2 separate regions of the Homo sapiens genome follow, and region 2 is linked to region 1. Evidence: promoter capture Hi-C in 16 types of primary human blood cells and fetal thymus (Javierre and others, 2016). All regions are on one chromosome and are shown on one strand. The core of a region is centred on a gene start or on the middle of the fragment in contact, and the rest is flanking DNA. Distances in the headings are between cores, read along the strand shown.

The links. The method cuts DNA at HindIII sites, captures the fragments that hold promoters and counts their contacts. A CHiCAGO score of 5 or more calls a contact.
Region 2: a fragment that was not itself captured here is called in contact with the fragment with the promoter of PHEX in region 1 in 1 of 17 cell types (neutrophils); the score reaches 6.3 in neutrophils.

The regions. Positions count from the first base shown.
Region 1 is chrX:22,030,778-22,033,827 of GRCh38, reverse strand. It overlaps PHEX (phosphate regulating endopeptidase X-linked), which reads right to left and starts at 1,503. Exons shown (of 22, transcript NM_000444.6): 1 at 705-1,503. The coding sequence starts at 822. The HindIII fragment of the contact is 6,886 bases long and covers 1-3,050 here.
Region 2 is chrX:23,672,017-23,675,066 of GRCh38, reverse strand. PRDX4 (peroxiredoxin 4) reads right to left here. Exons shown (of 7, transcript NM_006406.2): 3 at 1-77. Among named protein-coding and RNA genes, the nearest start is that of PRDX4, 6.0 kb to the right of the region's middle. The HindIII fragment of the contact is 4,829 bases long and covers 1-3,050 here.

The sequences.
Region 1 (3,050 bases), core at 254-2,753:
CTCACTCCTTTCCAAGATATTTGATTCTTTTTCATGGGAATACACTTCTATCATCCTATATACTCTCTGGGTACATCATTCTCACCAACAGTCATTAAAATAACTGAATCACAATATCTTTCAAATCTTGGGGGAAAACCTCTGTTTTCCTTCATATTAATTTGTAAATCAAATTGCATCTCACCAGAGTCACTGGATAAGAAAGGAATTGAAGAATATCATTAAAAGCACACTTTAAAGGACTGATTTGTGTTTTGTGAATTAAATTTCATGATTCGTTCAAGCAAACATTAATAAAAGTCAAATGGAAAGACACTCCAGCATGGTTTTCATCACAATGTAAAGTCTTTCCTCAAAATATAAATGAAACTATGTGACTATGAATTCACAAACACTCATTTTGCTAAATGTACCACATAAAAAATTTTCCACCCAATGCAACAGAATCAGCCAGCCACTCGAAGCCACTTACACCCACTTTGCCTTCTGGACTATACATTTGGTACTTGGGTGTATTTATTTATTTAGGCTCCTTAAAAAAGCCTTCTTTATCATTTGCATATTTGATAGAAACTAAAGATACACCACCTATGAACGCAGGCAAACAGCCCTATACCTGTGTTATGACAAGTTTTGCTACAATAAAGCACAAGGAAACTTCTCGACACACACCCAGTTCCCCCGGCCTCCTGCACTCCACTTACCTAGAAAGAGGATCGTGCCCAGAACTAGGGTGCCACCGACAAACACGACCAGGGCAATTCGAGTGCCTCTGTTGGCCTTCTTTCCAGTCTCCACGCTGCTCCCTGTTTCTGCTTCCATCAGAAGGGCCGTAGAGAGCACACGAGAAGAAAGTCACTTTTCGTGGTTTGGTGGCTGGTCTCAAGAGCGAGGCGTTGACATCCAAGGCTTTCTTGCTCTTCTACTAATGGACAGCTTAAGAAACTGCCGTCAGGAAATCTCCCCTCGCCACCCTTTCTCAAATAATTCTTCACAAATGAAAATTATAAAAACCAAAATATTGGTTGCCTTGGCTTTCCCCCTGACTAGACAAAACAAACAGTGTTGCTTTATCTTGGTGCTCTCCCTCAGCAAAGTCCCTGTTTGGCAGGCTCTTCTCTCAAGCGTTCCGAGTATATATGTTTTACTATGTTGCTGAACAGATGTTTTAGCTATTTAAATGTATAGTCACTTGGGGAGGAAAAAAACAATTGTTTTATCAAAACTGGATTCTCGTGAAACTCCCCCAAATCATGATAAGTTAGGTGGCCAGGATTCACCGGACCCACTTCAAGATCTCAATTAATCATGTAATTCTGTTGCAAGAATCATTCTGCTTGCCTGAATTGTCTTCATCAAAGATATTCTTTCAGTGTGTGAGTCCCTTTTTAAAGCCTTCTAAGAGTTCCTAGGATATCCTGGAGCATTTTATTTCAGGAACTTTGTGTATGATAGCATGTGCCAAAAATCAGTCATAGTCCAGTGCAGTGCAAAGTAGCAATTAAGACAACCTACAGAGGCTGATGGTTTGAACTGGAACTTTTTCTTAAAGGAAGGAGAAAAAGCACTTCCTCTTTGTGGTACTAAGAAGTGTACAAAAAAAAAAACCCACAAAAAAACACAAGTGCGTGAATTAAGTTTATTAGCAACTACAAAAGATATGATGAAAAATTTTTTCCTTGTGTGTTTTTGATGAAAAGTGCACCATGTGTTTTGTCTGCCACTCCTACTGAGGCAGCCATTCATTAGGATGTTTTTGTGTTTACATAAACTGTCCACTTCAGCAGATTCCCCAGGATGAATTCAAAGGCAATTGGTTTCAGGCCGGGCGTAGTGGCCCACGCCTGTAATCCCAGCACTTTGGGAGGCTGAGGCAGGGGGCTCGCTTGAGGCCAGGAGTTCGAGACCAGCCTGGCCAACAAGGCGAAACCTTGTTTGTACTAAAAACACAAAAATTAGCCGGGCATGTTGGTGAGCACCTGTATTCCCAGCTACTCAGGAGGCAGAGGTGGGAGAATCGCTTGAGCCTGGGAGGTGGAGGTTGCAGTGAGCCAGATCGCGCCACTGCACTCTAACCTGGGTGACAGAGAGAGAGACCCTGTCTCAAAAATAAACAAACAAAAAACAAAGGCAGTTGACTTCACTGGAAAGACTGATGAATGACTGGGTCTTTGATATTTTTGATTATGATAATGATTTAAACGATAACAATGTGCTTTCTTCATGGGGAAGGGCAACTGATATTCCAATGCTACCACTGAAATGATATAGATTTTATTATCCAAAGATATAGATATCGTTAACTCACAACACAATTACTACCTACCTGCTTTTGTTTTGCTGGAGGTCATAGGGCAGTGGGAGTGGGGGTGGAGAATTCAACTATATCTAGAAACCAGTAGAGCAATTATCTCAATGCAAAACTTGTGCGCATGGCTTTAGAGGTGACACAGGAGCTCAGCAGGTGCTGATGAGCTCAGTATAACATGGCCACACATTCATGGTCCTGTCTGGCTTGTCTTGGTCAGGGCTTAAGCCCTTAGCATGGGATTCTCTCAAGTTTTGGGGCTTATTCCATAATATACCTTACTTTCTGCTCATTTCATGTTGCGCCAAAGTCAGGGGGTCACAAGCCTTTGTCCAAGTTATGACATCATGGTGTGTTGTAGTTATCCTGTGCTCATTGGCTGTTGACATTATTTTGTTGCTGTTATTCCATAACACACCCTAGCAGGACTTTGGCCCCTAGTATGGGATTCTCCCAAGAGTTTTTGGACCTCACTCTAGAACACATCTTAGACCATGAGTTCCACAAAGTCAGGAACCATGTTCAATGTTGCAGCTCCAACATCGACATTTCCTGGCCCTTCACAGTGAAAAGGAGAGCAATAAAAATCATACAAGTTAGCCCTAGCCACTTACTCTTAACAACCAGCTTCAGCTGGGCGCAGTGGCTCACGCCTGTAATCCCAGTACTTTGGGAGGCCAAGGCGGGTGGATCACGAGGTCAGGAGTTCGAGACCAGCCTGGCCAACATGGTGAAACCCTGT
Region 2 (3,050 bases), core at 1-2,500, 1.6 Mb before region 1:
CCACTTCAGTATTTATAGATCTGAATTCTTCAAGTCTGTCGCCAAAAGCGATAATTTCAGTTGGACACACAAATGTGCTGAAAGGTAAAAAAAAAAAAATATTCAGTATTCTCCAAATAAGCATATACCTAAACTTTCAAATGACAATTTTTACAAATACCTTTAATAATAAAAATGCACATTAAGAACAATTTTATATTTGAACCTTTTCAAAATGGAGTAGTCTAAAAGACTGTCATTTAATCAAATATTTAAGACAGAAACATATTACAGAGTTCCCAACTACATCTCAATAAACTTTCTTATTACAACTTAATAGATCAGTAGTCAACCAATGTTCCCTTCTCCCTTATAGCAATAGCCACCCCTCATTTTATTACTTTTATTTAATAATACCTTTTATTTATATAGTATTTTATAGCTTTCAAAGGATCTATACAAATTTTATGTCATTTCACTATTTTTTTTTTAATATTCCTATACCAACCCTATGAATTAGATGCATCTATGTGTATTTTGGAGAGGAGGCAATGTTTTCCAGTACCCCCACCCCTCCTTTCTTGATAAGGTCCTCTTCCACCTTGTCTACCAGTCCTGTGCAGCCAGGGATTTTATACCTTAATACCCTCATGTTGTCAGGCCATGTTTACAGAATATTACTAGGGTGGCATTTTTTCAAACCGTGGTAGGGACTCCTTAAATTAACTGAGTTCTAAAAAATATTTTTAAAAAGTGAAATCGAATAGAAAACAGGAGACTCTATCATACATACTAAGGGTAAATTATGAAACACATATTTATATATACAAATATATATGTTTGTCTTCAACAGTGATGATATTCAAAATATTTAACAATCTTAACTCAAAGCTGGCTTTAGTTCTGGAGGTTTCTGAAAGGGATCAGGCAGGAGGACTAACTAGTTGGTGAGGAAAGGGAAGTGGCTATTTACCACATGATATGAGGGTTTTTCAGTATTTTAAGGAGCATGGCTGTGCTGGTGCATCCAGATGGAATGTTACCGTATATATATGTGCCTGTGTACTGGCTGACAACGAAAAATGTATTTCCTACTGTGAGACATGGTCAAGAAAGTTTGAAAAACATAGACTTAGTTAGGGCACAAGTTCCTACCAGATACCAATACAGGATTTTAACATGTTTCAGGTATTCAGGTACAGCACTGTCATGTCCAAGTAGACAGTTCTAATCTCGGATGATGTCCCTGGAAACCTGGGCTATAAAATGTATTTTTAATATTTTCTAAAGGGTAGGAATGGTCAGCCTCAGCCTTCCTTTTTTTTTTTTTTTGTGGCAGGGTCTCACTCTGTCACCCAGGCTGGAGTGCAGTGGCGCGATCTCAGCTCACTGCAACCTCCGCCTCCCGGGTTCAAGCAATTCTCCTGCCTCAGCCTGCTGAGTAACTGGGACTACAAACGCCCACCACCACGCCCGGGTAATTTTGTTTGTATTTTCAGTAGAGACGGGGTTTCACCTTGTTGGCCAGGCTGGTCTAGAACTCCTGACCTCAGGTGATCCGCCCATGTTGGCCTCCCAAAGTGCTGGGATTACAGGCGTGAGCCACTGCACCCAGCCTCTGCCTTTCTTCTTATTTCAAGGAATGCTACCTAGAGATACATTTGACCAACTTCTTAGTGAAGACAGAAAAAGTTTTGGCAGGAAACTGAAGGGTTACGTTTGTAACTTTCCTCCTTGTAGACTGTGGCAAATGCCCCAGAATTCTTCCTTCTCTAACCAGGCACAGTCCAGCATTACATGAAAACAGGAAGAGGCTATCTTAGCTCCTTGTCCCAGAAGACCATTGCTAACAACATGCTCCAATTAACTATCTCTTACCCATTATGGAGTTATGAATAACAATGGAGAAACACAGAACATATTTTTCTGCTACATTAGACTAACTTCCAAATTCAGGGTGTTAGTCGTATATATTTAACATACATGTTAACCTTCTGGTTTTATAACAACATGAATTTAGAAGGCCTGTCATTTTTTATGTCTACTGAAATTTCTACTTCTGGTTTCTATTAGAAATTAAGCTATACTTAAAAAAATCAAGTCACAATATGAGTTGATTAGAAAGAAGCAAGTTCTTATAATTTAAAAGATTATATATTATGCAGACTCATAACTTTAGTCTCAATGTAATAATTTTCATGAGAATTCTTCCTTTGTGGCTTAGAGCAGGGGTTGGCAAATAGGTCAATAGGCCAAATCCAGCAGAAAAAATTTGTTAATCCCTGGCCTAGAAACAACCTATAGCAATGAGCTTAAGTATACCCTCCCTGCAAGTTTAAATTTGATCTATGTAGTTCCAGATTAGTCCTAATGGAAAAAGGCACAGTGGCAAAGATAGAGGAGGAAACTTCTAGTTATTTGTTGTAACCAAAAAGTAAGTTCCAAGAGAATAAAAGATAAAAATTGACATAACTCTTTTTGGTCTCTTCTCACTTTCATGAATTTTGAAAAACACTCAAAATAGTGTTTTGTAAAATAAAATTAAATCCTCAACGTGAATAAAGCTGTAAGGGTATTTACTTTTAGTCAACTTTCTGACCATATACAAAAACGCTCACTGTCACAGAGTTAAAAAAAGACGAGAAACCCCACAATAACCATAACATATACACAGGTGTTATTCCTTATTCCTTAAGCAGTATATAATATTTTCAGCAAAATGTTCAAATCCCAGAAAAGCAACAGATGCAGCAAAGAATAAAAATGGAAAAACCACAGTTACATGGTATCACTAGAGAAAATGGCTTAATTTTCTTTTTCTTTTCTTTTTGAGATGGAGTCTCGCTGTCGCCAGGCTGGAGTGCAGTGGCACTATCTCAGCTTACTGCAACCTCCGCCTCCAGGGTTCAAGCAATTCTCCTGCCTCAGCCTCCCGAGTAGCTGGGACTACAGGCGCGTACCACCACGCCCAGCTAATTTTTGCATTTTTAGTAGAGATGGGGTTTTACCATGTTGGCCAGGATGGTCTCGATCTCTTGACCTTGTAATCCACCTGCCTTGGCCTCCCAAAG